Regions from separate parts of the Homo sapiens genome. Here region 2 is linked to region 1. The links are contacts of gene promoters, found by promoter capture Hi-C in human tissues and cell types (Jung and others, 2019). All regions are on one chromosome and are shown on one strand. The core of a region is centred on a gene start or on the middle of the fragment in contact, and the rest is flanking DNA. Distances in the headings are between cores, read along the strand shown.

Evidence for each region. Contacts are between HindIII fragments. The study calls those that stand out against the background at their distance.
Region 2: a fragment that was not itself captured here is called in contact with the fragment with the promoter of B3GNT4 in region 1 in 5 of the 25 tissues and cell types used here (lymphoblastoid cells, mesenchymal stem cells, small bowel and 2 more).

Annotation. Positions count from the first base shown.
Region 1 is chr12:122,201,855-122,206,149 of GRCh38, forward strand. B3GNT4 (UDP-GlcNAc:betaGal beta-1,3-N-acetylglucosaminyltransferase 4) reads left to right here and starts at 1,855. Exons shown (of 3, transcript NM_030765.4): 1 at 1,855-1,947; 2 at 2,668-2,830. The coding sequence starts at 2,765. It overlaps LRRC43 (leucine rich repeat containing 43), which reads left to right. Exons shown (of 12, transcript NM_001098519.2): 12 at 1,461-1,617. The coding sequence ends at 1,588. RefSeq lists a silencer at 1,540-2,169. The HindIII fragment of the contact is 16,495 bases long and covers 1-4,295 here.
Region 2 is chr12:122,342,357-122,346,756 of GRCh38, forward strand. The region is part of intron 10 of CLIP1 (CAP-Gly domain containing linker protein 1); the gene reads right to left. Among named protein-coding and RNA genes, the nearest start is that of CLIP1-AS1, 51 kb to the right of the region's middle. The HindIII fragment of the contact is 6,248 bases long and covers 1-4,400 here.

The sequences.
Region 1 (4,295 bases), core at 605-3,104:
CCAACATGGTGGCTCACGCCTGTAATCCCAGCACTTTGGCGTGCGGATCACCTGAGGTGAGGAGTTCGAGACCAGCCTAGCCAACATGGTGAAACCCCGTCTCTACTGAAAACACAAAAATTAGCCAGGTGCGGTGGTGGGTGCCTGTAATCCCAGCTACTCAGGAGACTGAGGCAGGAGAGTCGCTTGAACCTGGAAGGCAGAGGTGGCAGTGAGCTGAGATCGCGCCATTTCACGCCAGCCTGAAGAAGTAAACGTTGGAGGGCATATGCTGCTGGACTTCAAAACCCATGCCTATATGAACATGTGATTTGTGATACTTATCTGTGGGTTAAGATGGCCTTAAAAAGGTTTTTTTTTTTTTAATCTCTTTAATGTTTGGCTTAATTGAAGACAGCTGGATTCTTACAGCTACTTCTGCAGTCAACTGCTTGCAATATGTTGCTGTAATTGACGTGCACAAAGAAAATCCAACCTCAGGCCCATAATTGGAAAAGAGGGAGTATTTTAATAGACCTTAAAATAATATAATTTCTTTAATATTACACCAAATTTGACAAGTGGTAATTTCTTAAAGGTTGTTACAATGTGAAAACAATCTATATTGAATTTTTCATAATCAGATTAAAATTCATTAATCTAGTTTGCATTTTGAACGGATATTTTACCATGCAGTTTGTAACATGCATGAGTTACTTGTAAACTACAGGTTAACAGACTTATGCAGATATTCCAACAGTTGACACCTGTCACTATACATTTTCCAAAGATCACGTTCTTTACTATCACCACCCACATCATTAGAAAGGTCTTTGCGTATTGGAAAATTGGTAAATTCATGGTGGCAGATACAATGTTGTCTCATTTTTAGGGCAAATGTTATACATTTATTGAAATGCTTTCAGTTGTTTCCCCTGAAGTGCTATAATTACTTCATTTTTAAGAAAATATCTGCAGCTGGGCTCGGTAGTGTACGCCTGTGATCCTAGCACGTTGGGAGGCCTAGGCAGGCGGATCACTTGAGGTCAGGAGTTCGAGACCAGGCTGGCCAACATGGTGAAACCCCGTCTCTACTAAAACTACAAAAAATAGCCGGTCGTGGTGACAGGCGCCTGTAATCCCAGCTACTTGGAGGCTGACGCAGGAGAATCGCTTGAACCTGGGAGGCGGAGGTTGCAGTGAGCCGGGATCATGCCACCGCACTCCAGCCTGGGCGACGGAGCACGACACTGTCTCAAAGCAAAAAGCAGCCAGTCTTGCAACTCAAACAGCTGCGATTTATTAAATGATCTAATTAAATACAATTTAATTTTATTTCTTATTACTGTTAACACCCGAGGACCAAAACTGTGCTCCCGCTGGGACAGGGTCCAGGGCTTGCATATGGGATGGGTCAGGGCGGCCGAGAACGCCAGCCCATCCGTCTCCCGGGGCTCATGCTCGCACTTAAATTTTCTCAGAAAAGCCGAAAGCCGTGATTCCGATCTACGAAGGCGATTACCACCCTGAGCCCCTGACCGTAGAGGTGCAGATCCAGCTGAACCAGTGCCGCTCGGCGGAGGAGGCTCTGCGCATGTTCGCCGTGTAGGGCGTGGGCAGTAAAGGCTGTTCCCAGCACTCCCGCCTCCGCTTCTGTCCCGCCGCACGCGTCGGGGGGCGGGTGTGGCGCCGGCGTCCTGGGGAGGAGGAGCAGCCTCTGCCCGACCCGGCTCGTGCGGACCCCAGGACCGGGCGCGGGACGCGTGCGTCCAGCCTCCGGCGCTGCGGAGACCCGCGGCTGGGTCCGGGGAGGCCCCAAACCCGCCCCCGCCAGAACCCCGCCCCAAATTCCCACCTCCTCCAGAAGCCCCGCCCACTCCCGAGCCCCGAGAGCTCCGCGCACCTGGGCGCCATCCGCCCTGGCTCCGCTGCACGAGCTCCACGCCCGTACCCCGGCGTCACGCTCAGGTAGGTTGGGGGCCGGGACGCCGCTGCTGTGAGGGAGGCTGGGTCACCGTGCAGGGAGGGGCGTCGCCAGGGCGGCCGTGCCTTTGCACCCCGCGGCCCGCTCCCCGGTCCCCCAGGGTCCCCGCGAGGACGCCGGCCCCGCCCGGGTGCGGCGCGAGTCTGGCCTCGGCGGGCACGGCTCGGGGCCCACGGGCCGCTCGGCTTCGGTTCTCCAGGCTGGGGACAGAGGCTGGAGCCGGGCGCGGTAGACCCCGCCAGCCTGGGCCGCCCGCGCCCGACGCGCAGCGCTGCTGCCAACCCCGGCCCGGGGGTCCCCGCAGAGTGGGTCTCTGCTGCCGTCAGCCCTTCGGAGACTGTCGCGTTGAAAGAATGAACCAGAGTTCGCCCCCTGCCCGCGCCAGGGCGTTTTGGGTCACCGAGTCCTGTGGGGATCCGAGGCGGCTGCCGCCCAAGGCCGAGCGCAGCCTCAGGACCCGCGCCCCACCAGACGGGGTCGTGCGCTCCGCGGCGGGTGGAGAGCCGGGCTCTGGGGTCTCCGCGGCTCGGAGGGCGGCGGGGCGAGGCCGTGCGGCCAGCGCCTGGGGACGCCCGCGGCGGGACAGGGGCCACCCGGGCCGCGGCGCAGCCTGGGCTGAAACCTCCTGGGACGGAACCAAGCCACCTGCTGTGCGCCCTTCTCGGTGAATGGCACCGCCGCCCGCCCGGGCCTCTCGTCCACAGCCCGCGGTGCTCGCACACCTGAGACTCATCTCGCTTCGACCCCGCCGCCGCCGCCGCCCGGCATCCTGAGCACGGAGACAGTCTCCAGCTGCCGTTCATGCTTCCTCCCCAGCCTTCCGCAGCCCACCAGGGAAGGGGCGGTAGGAGTGGCCTTTTACCAAAGGTCAGATTCTTTCACCGCCTCTGCCAGACCCCCTTGTCCCCCACCCCCGCATAGATCTCCAGGGGGCTCAGAAAACTCTGGCCGGTGGCTCACGCCTGTAGTCCCAACGCTTTGGGAGGCCAAGGCGGGAGGATCGCTTGAGGCCAGGAGTTCCAGACCAGCCCAGGCAACAAAAGATACCACATCTCTACAAAAAATAAATTAGCCGGGCCCTGCACGCCTGTAGTCCCAGCTACTGGGGAGGCCGAGGCCGGAGGATCGCTTGAACCCAGGAGTTCCAGGCTGCAGTGAGCTATAATTGTGCCACTGCACTAGAGTCTGGGTGACAGAGACACTGTCTCAAAAAAAACCAACAAAACCCTTAGCTCTTTCACTAGCCGGGCTGGCCTCTTCCTACTGTAAACCTGCTGGGCCCCCGTCTCCCTTCTTTCTCCCCTCTCTCCTGCCCTGGAGCTGCCTGACTCTGCCCACGGCCTGCAGAGACCCCAGGTCTTCACGCAAGGTGCCATTCCTCACTCAGTTCTTGCTCAAACGTCCCTCCATCAAGGAGGGCTTTTTAGCTACCCTTGGCTATGGGATCCGTCCTCCGCGTCAGCCAATTCTCTGCATTAGACTGTAACTTCTCAACATACCTGGTTCCTATGCGTTTTGTGCTCCCCTCTGAGAGGGCAGCGACCCTGTCTTGCTTGCCACTGCATCCCTAGCACCTAGCAGTTGCTTTTCTGGTGACGGCGGCTGTGGCAGTGGCCAATGCGGCAGACTGGTCAGAAGTGAAGGGACAGGATGACTTGGCAGTGGAGGTCAAGGGGAGGGGACTGGGGCAGAGGGAGACACCAGAGGGACAAAAATGAGAAACTGAAGACAGGCTTTGCTACGTGGAGCTCGGGCAGGCCACACTGGTGGATTCTGTCTCCTCATCCTTCTTTTCAGGTCCCTGGGAGAAATCAGCACTTAGAACGTGGTGGGAAGGCGGGGCGGGGTGCCTCGGAAGCCATCCCTGATACAAGTCCCCAGCTTTCCTGCTTCCCCTCTTGTGGTGTGTGGCTTTGTCTCCCTCCCTCCCTCCTGGAAGCCCCGACCTCTGAGGCAGGTGTAAAGGGTGTGTGCTTTGGTGGCCACGGCCACCCTGTGGTGCTGGTTCTCCTCCGAGGGAAGCAGTGCACTCCTGGTCATCTTGGAGACGCCCAACACAGGACCCCACAGGCACCAAGCTTTTTTTGGGAAATGGTTTCACTTCCCACTTGAAAAGCCCTGAATGTCAGTTCCACACTTAGTGAATTTGATCCAAGCTAAACTGAGTCTGTGCCTAAAACTCATCAGGTGCTCGAGTTTCCTGGAAGAATGGCTGGGAACGTTTATGGTGTCAGCTGTAAAGTGGCTGCAAGTCCTTTTGGGAAAAACAGACCCAGGAGTCCTCAGATGATGGCAGAGGAGGGCAAGGGCTGGCAAAGCAGCTGTGCTTAGC
Region 2 (4,400 bases), core at 1,338-3,837, 140 kb after region 1:
AGGTTGCATAAATGCTTATCCATTTCATGGAGGTGATCTTATAGAACTGTGCCATCCGGAACAGTAGCTGTTGGCCACACGTGGCTATTGAGCACTTGAGATGTGGCTCATCTGAAGTGAGGTGTGGTATAAGTGCAAAATACACATCAGATTTTGAAGACTTAGAAGAAAAGGATCACAAAATGTCTTGTGGGCCAAGTGCAGTGGCTCACGCCTGTAATCCCACCACTTTGGGAGGCCGAGGCAGAAGGATCACTTGAGGCCAGGAGTTCAAGATCAGTCTCGGCAACACAGCAAGACCCCGTCTTTGCAAAAAATAAAAAATTAGCCAGGCATGGTGGTGTCGCCTGTGGTAACAGGTACTTGGGAGGCTAAGACGGGAGGATTGCTTGAGTCTAGGAGGTTGAGGCTATAGTGAGTAATTGTGCCATTGTACTCCAGCCTGGGAGACAGAGCACGACTCTGTCTCTAAAAAAAAAAAAAAACAAACTGAAATTATATTTTAAAATGTTTAAAATATCTTAATAATTTTATTTTGATTAATATTTTGAATATATCAGTTACATAAAATATATTATTAAAACTAATTTAACTTGTGACTTACAAAAAAGTAATGTGGGTACCAGAAAATTATAAATTGTACATGTGTGGCTTACATTATACTTCTATTGGACAGCACTTGCATAAAAGGTCTAAAATTACCTATCAAATGTTTCAATGAATAACACATCACCTGTAGAATGAAAGCCTCAATTGAAGAATGAAGAATTAATTTACTAAACTTTTTTTTTTTTTTTTTTTGAGATGGAGTTTTGCTTTCGTTGCCCAGTGCAATGGCGCGATCCCAGCTCACTGCAACCTCCACCTCCCAGGTTCAAGCGATTCTCCTGCCTCAGCCTTCCAAGTAGCTGGGATTACAGGCATGTGCCACCAGACCTGGCTAATTTTGCATTTTTAGTAGAGACGGGGTTTCACTATGTTGGTCAGGCTGGTCTCGAACTCCTGACCTCCAGTGATCCACCCACCTTGGCCTCCCAAAGTGCTGGGATTACAGGCGTGAGCCACCACGCCTGGCCTACTGATCATTTTATTAAAACACAAAGTAAGAATGATTACTTACCTGCAATAATACACAAGAATCTTACACAAAATCCCCTTTTTAGATATGATAATTCTATCAGCATTTTGATGTAAACATCTTCTTCCCCTAACCCCCTAACCCAGTGGTTCTCAGACATTAGTACGCACATGAATCACCTGGAATGTACATCTAACCTGCAAGTTTCTACCTATTCCCATGTACTTCGATTCTATTTGAGCTCCGGGATAGTACCCAAGAATCTTCTTCCTTTAAATAAATACCCCAGGGCTAGAAAAACACTTTCTTAACCTGTGCCCTTTCATTGCTAGAAAATTACTTCCCTCTGCTACCTGCTATGCAGTCCATTTAGTACATAGGATGTGTGGAAAATAGCTTCCATCACAAAAATTCTTGGACTAATCTGGGAAATGAAAGGGAACAAAATAATTTTAAAACAGCAGTGAGTCCCATATTTCAAGGATCAAAACTCCTGTGATTGGCTGGGTGAGGTGGTACATGCCTATATACCTAGCACTTTGGGAGGCCAAGGCAAGAGGATCACTTGTGGCCAGGAGTTCAAGATCAGCCTGGGCAACACAGCGAGAACTCCATCTCTACAAAAAAATGTTAAATATTCTTCTGAATTTAAGACTCCTCTCCCACACTGCCTTTCTTTGAGACAGAAAATAACAGATATGTTTTCTTTCATTTCCTCTGTCCACCCTACAGGCTGTGACACCAATAAAGATTAAAATGCCCATAAGAGAAGAGGAAAAGAAAGCACTGAGTCTCCAAAACTGCATAATCAAAGTAAATAAAATTAAATATTTCAGAGCTGACTATAATTGCTGTGCTTCGTGGTTATAGACTCATCAGGTTAAAGATGTTAATTCATTTACACATGATTTTCTGGGGAAGGAAGAGTCCAAGAGTTTGTTACGTCAAAATAACATACAAAACATTAATAAACCCATCAGGATCTGGCAGAATTTGCTAAATAAAAGAAAAAAAAACACAAAACACTAATAAACCCCATTGCTGCAAGGTCTGTAGCATAAATACATTAAACCCAATAGGGCAATGGTTCTTAGTTACAACAAAACAGTCAAGTAGAGAAAAATGCCAAGTAAAAAATAAGTAAAAATAATAAATACCAATGTGATTTTACTTTCCGTGGCATTTCCCTATAAAGTACAGCAATTTATTTTTCATTTCCCAAAATCTGCCCTAATTCAAAACTATGTGGTATGTCTGCTTCTCCCACTAGTTTGAGACCATGAATTAAGTCAGAAATTATTTCTTATTCTTCCTAACATCTCTACAGCACCAAGCACACTGTTTGGAAACTGGATTTATTGGCTAGAAAGTATTCTAAAGCACTTCCTAAAAAGTAACATAGGTGATATGAAACTTACATGGGTAGCTGGTTATCTTAACACTTGGGAACCCAAGAGTGAGGATCAACAGAAGACATACTTCGTTATGGAAAGATATAAGCTTTACACTGAAATACTTGGATAAACCATGGTGTAACTGAATGCCTTATCTAGAGCAGGAAAAAAAACATCAAAATTGTTTGCTGACAAAACTAAGATACGGGAGAGGAGTTTACATGTTTTAAAAAAATATATTACTTCAAAAGCCATCACACTAAAGGAACTCAATCTCATTAGTCCATTGTATTTCCCGGATCAATTATTTGGCTCTCAGTTAATGAGGAAACAGCACCAAATTGCCACTTTTTTTTTTTTTTTTGAAACAGGGTCTTGCTCTATTGCCCAGGCTGGAGTGCAGAGACATGAACATGGCTCACTGCAAGCCTCGACCTCCTGGGCTCAAGAGATCCTTCCACCTCAGCCTGCCATGTAGCCACCACACCCAGCTAATTTTTTTTTTTATTTTTTGTAGAAGCAGGGTATCACCACCTTGCCCAGGCTGGTCTTGAATTCTTGGACTCAGGTGATCCTCCTGCCTTGGCCTCCCAAAGTGCTGGGATTACAGGCATGAAACACCATGCCTGGCCCACTCTTTTTTTGTTTTCTTACCAAATACACAGGAGAAATCTTTAGTTCAGAGGCCGATAGTTCCTTCTTCTTAAAAAATAAAAACACATGATTTAGAAAAGAAAAATTGTCTAGATTTTTAGATCAGTCAATTAATTCTCAACAAGAGAAATTTCTACAAACACTAGAAATTTTTTTAAAAATCAGGATAGCAAATTTGATTAGAGACAGAGTAATTTTTGGAATTCTAAAGTTAAGAATCTGGGCAATTTAGTCACTGACAGACAAATTCATGATTTAAAAGGGTATGTGACTACATATCTTACATGTAAGTGACTATTTCTTTTTCTTTTTTTTTTTTTGAGACAGAGTTTCGCTCTTGTTGCCCAGGCTGGAGTGCAATGGCGTGATCTCGGCTCACCGCAACCTCTGCCTCCCAGGTTCAAGTGATTCTCCTGCCTCAGCCTCCCTAGTAGCTGGGATTACAGGCATGTGTCACCACGCCCGGATAATTTTAGTATTTTTAGTAGAGATGGGGTTTCTCCATGTTGGCCAGGCTGGTCTCAAACTCCCAACCTCAGGTGATCCACCCACCTCAGCCTCCCAAAGTGCTGGGATTACAGGCATGAGCCACCGCGCCTGGCCATTTCTTAATCTTTACGCACAAAACAACTTCCATAATAGACGGACTCCATCCTGTGGTGCTTAAGAGCACAGACTCTGGGGCCAAATGTCCTAGATGCAAATCCTGCCTCCATTATTACTATTTGCTGTTTTATCTTAGGCAAGTTATTTAACTTCTCTGCGCCTCAGTGTTCTTGTCTGTAAAATGGGGACACTAATATTCCCTACCTCCTAGGGTTGTGTTGAGACTGAATACCTGCAAAGCACTTAGAATAGTGTCTGGCATGAAGTATGCACTATATAGGTGCTTTAATATATAAATAAACTAAAACCTGAGTAATGTCCTGGCTCCAAGGGCTAAGCACAATGAGCTCAGGGCAGGAAGAAGCCATTCTGTTCCCAACATGCATTTCCCTCCTCACCACTGAGGGTTTTTTTGTTTTGTTTTGTTTTTTCCAGACAGAGTCTCACTCTGTCACCCAGGCTGGGGTGCAGTGGCACGATCTCAGCTCATTGCAAACTCCATTTCCTGGATTCAAGCAATCCTCCTGCCTCAGCCTCCCATGTACCTGAGATTACAGGCATGCGCCACCAGGCCCAGCCAATTTTTGTATTTTCAGTAAAGACAGGGTTTCACCATGTTGGCCAGGCTGGTCTCAAACTCCTGACCTCAAGTAATCTGCCTGCCTCAG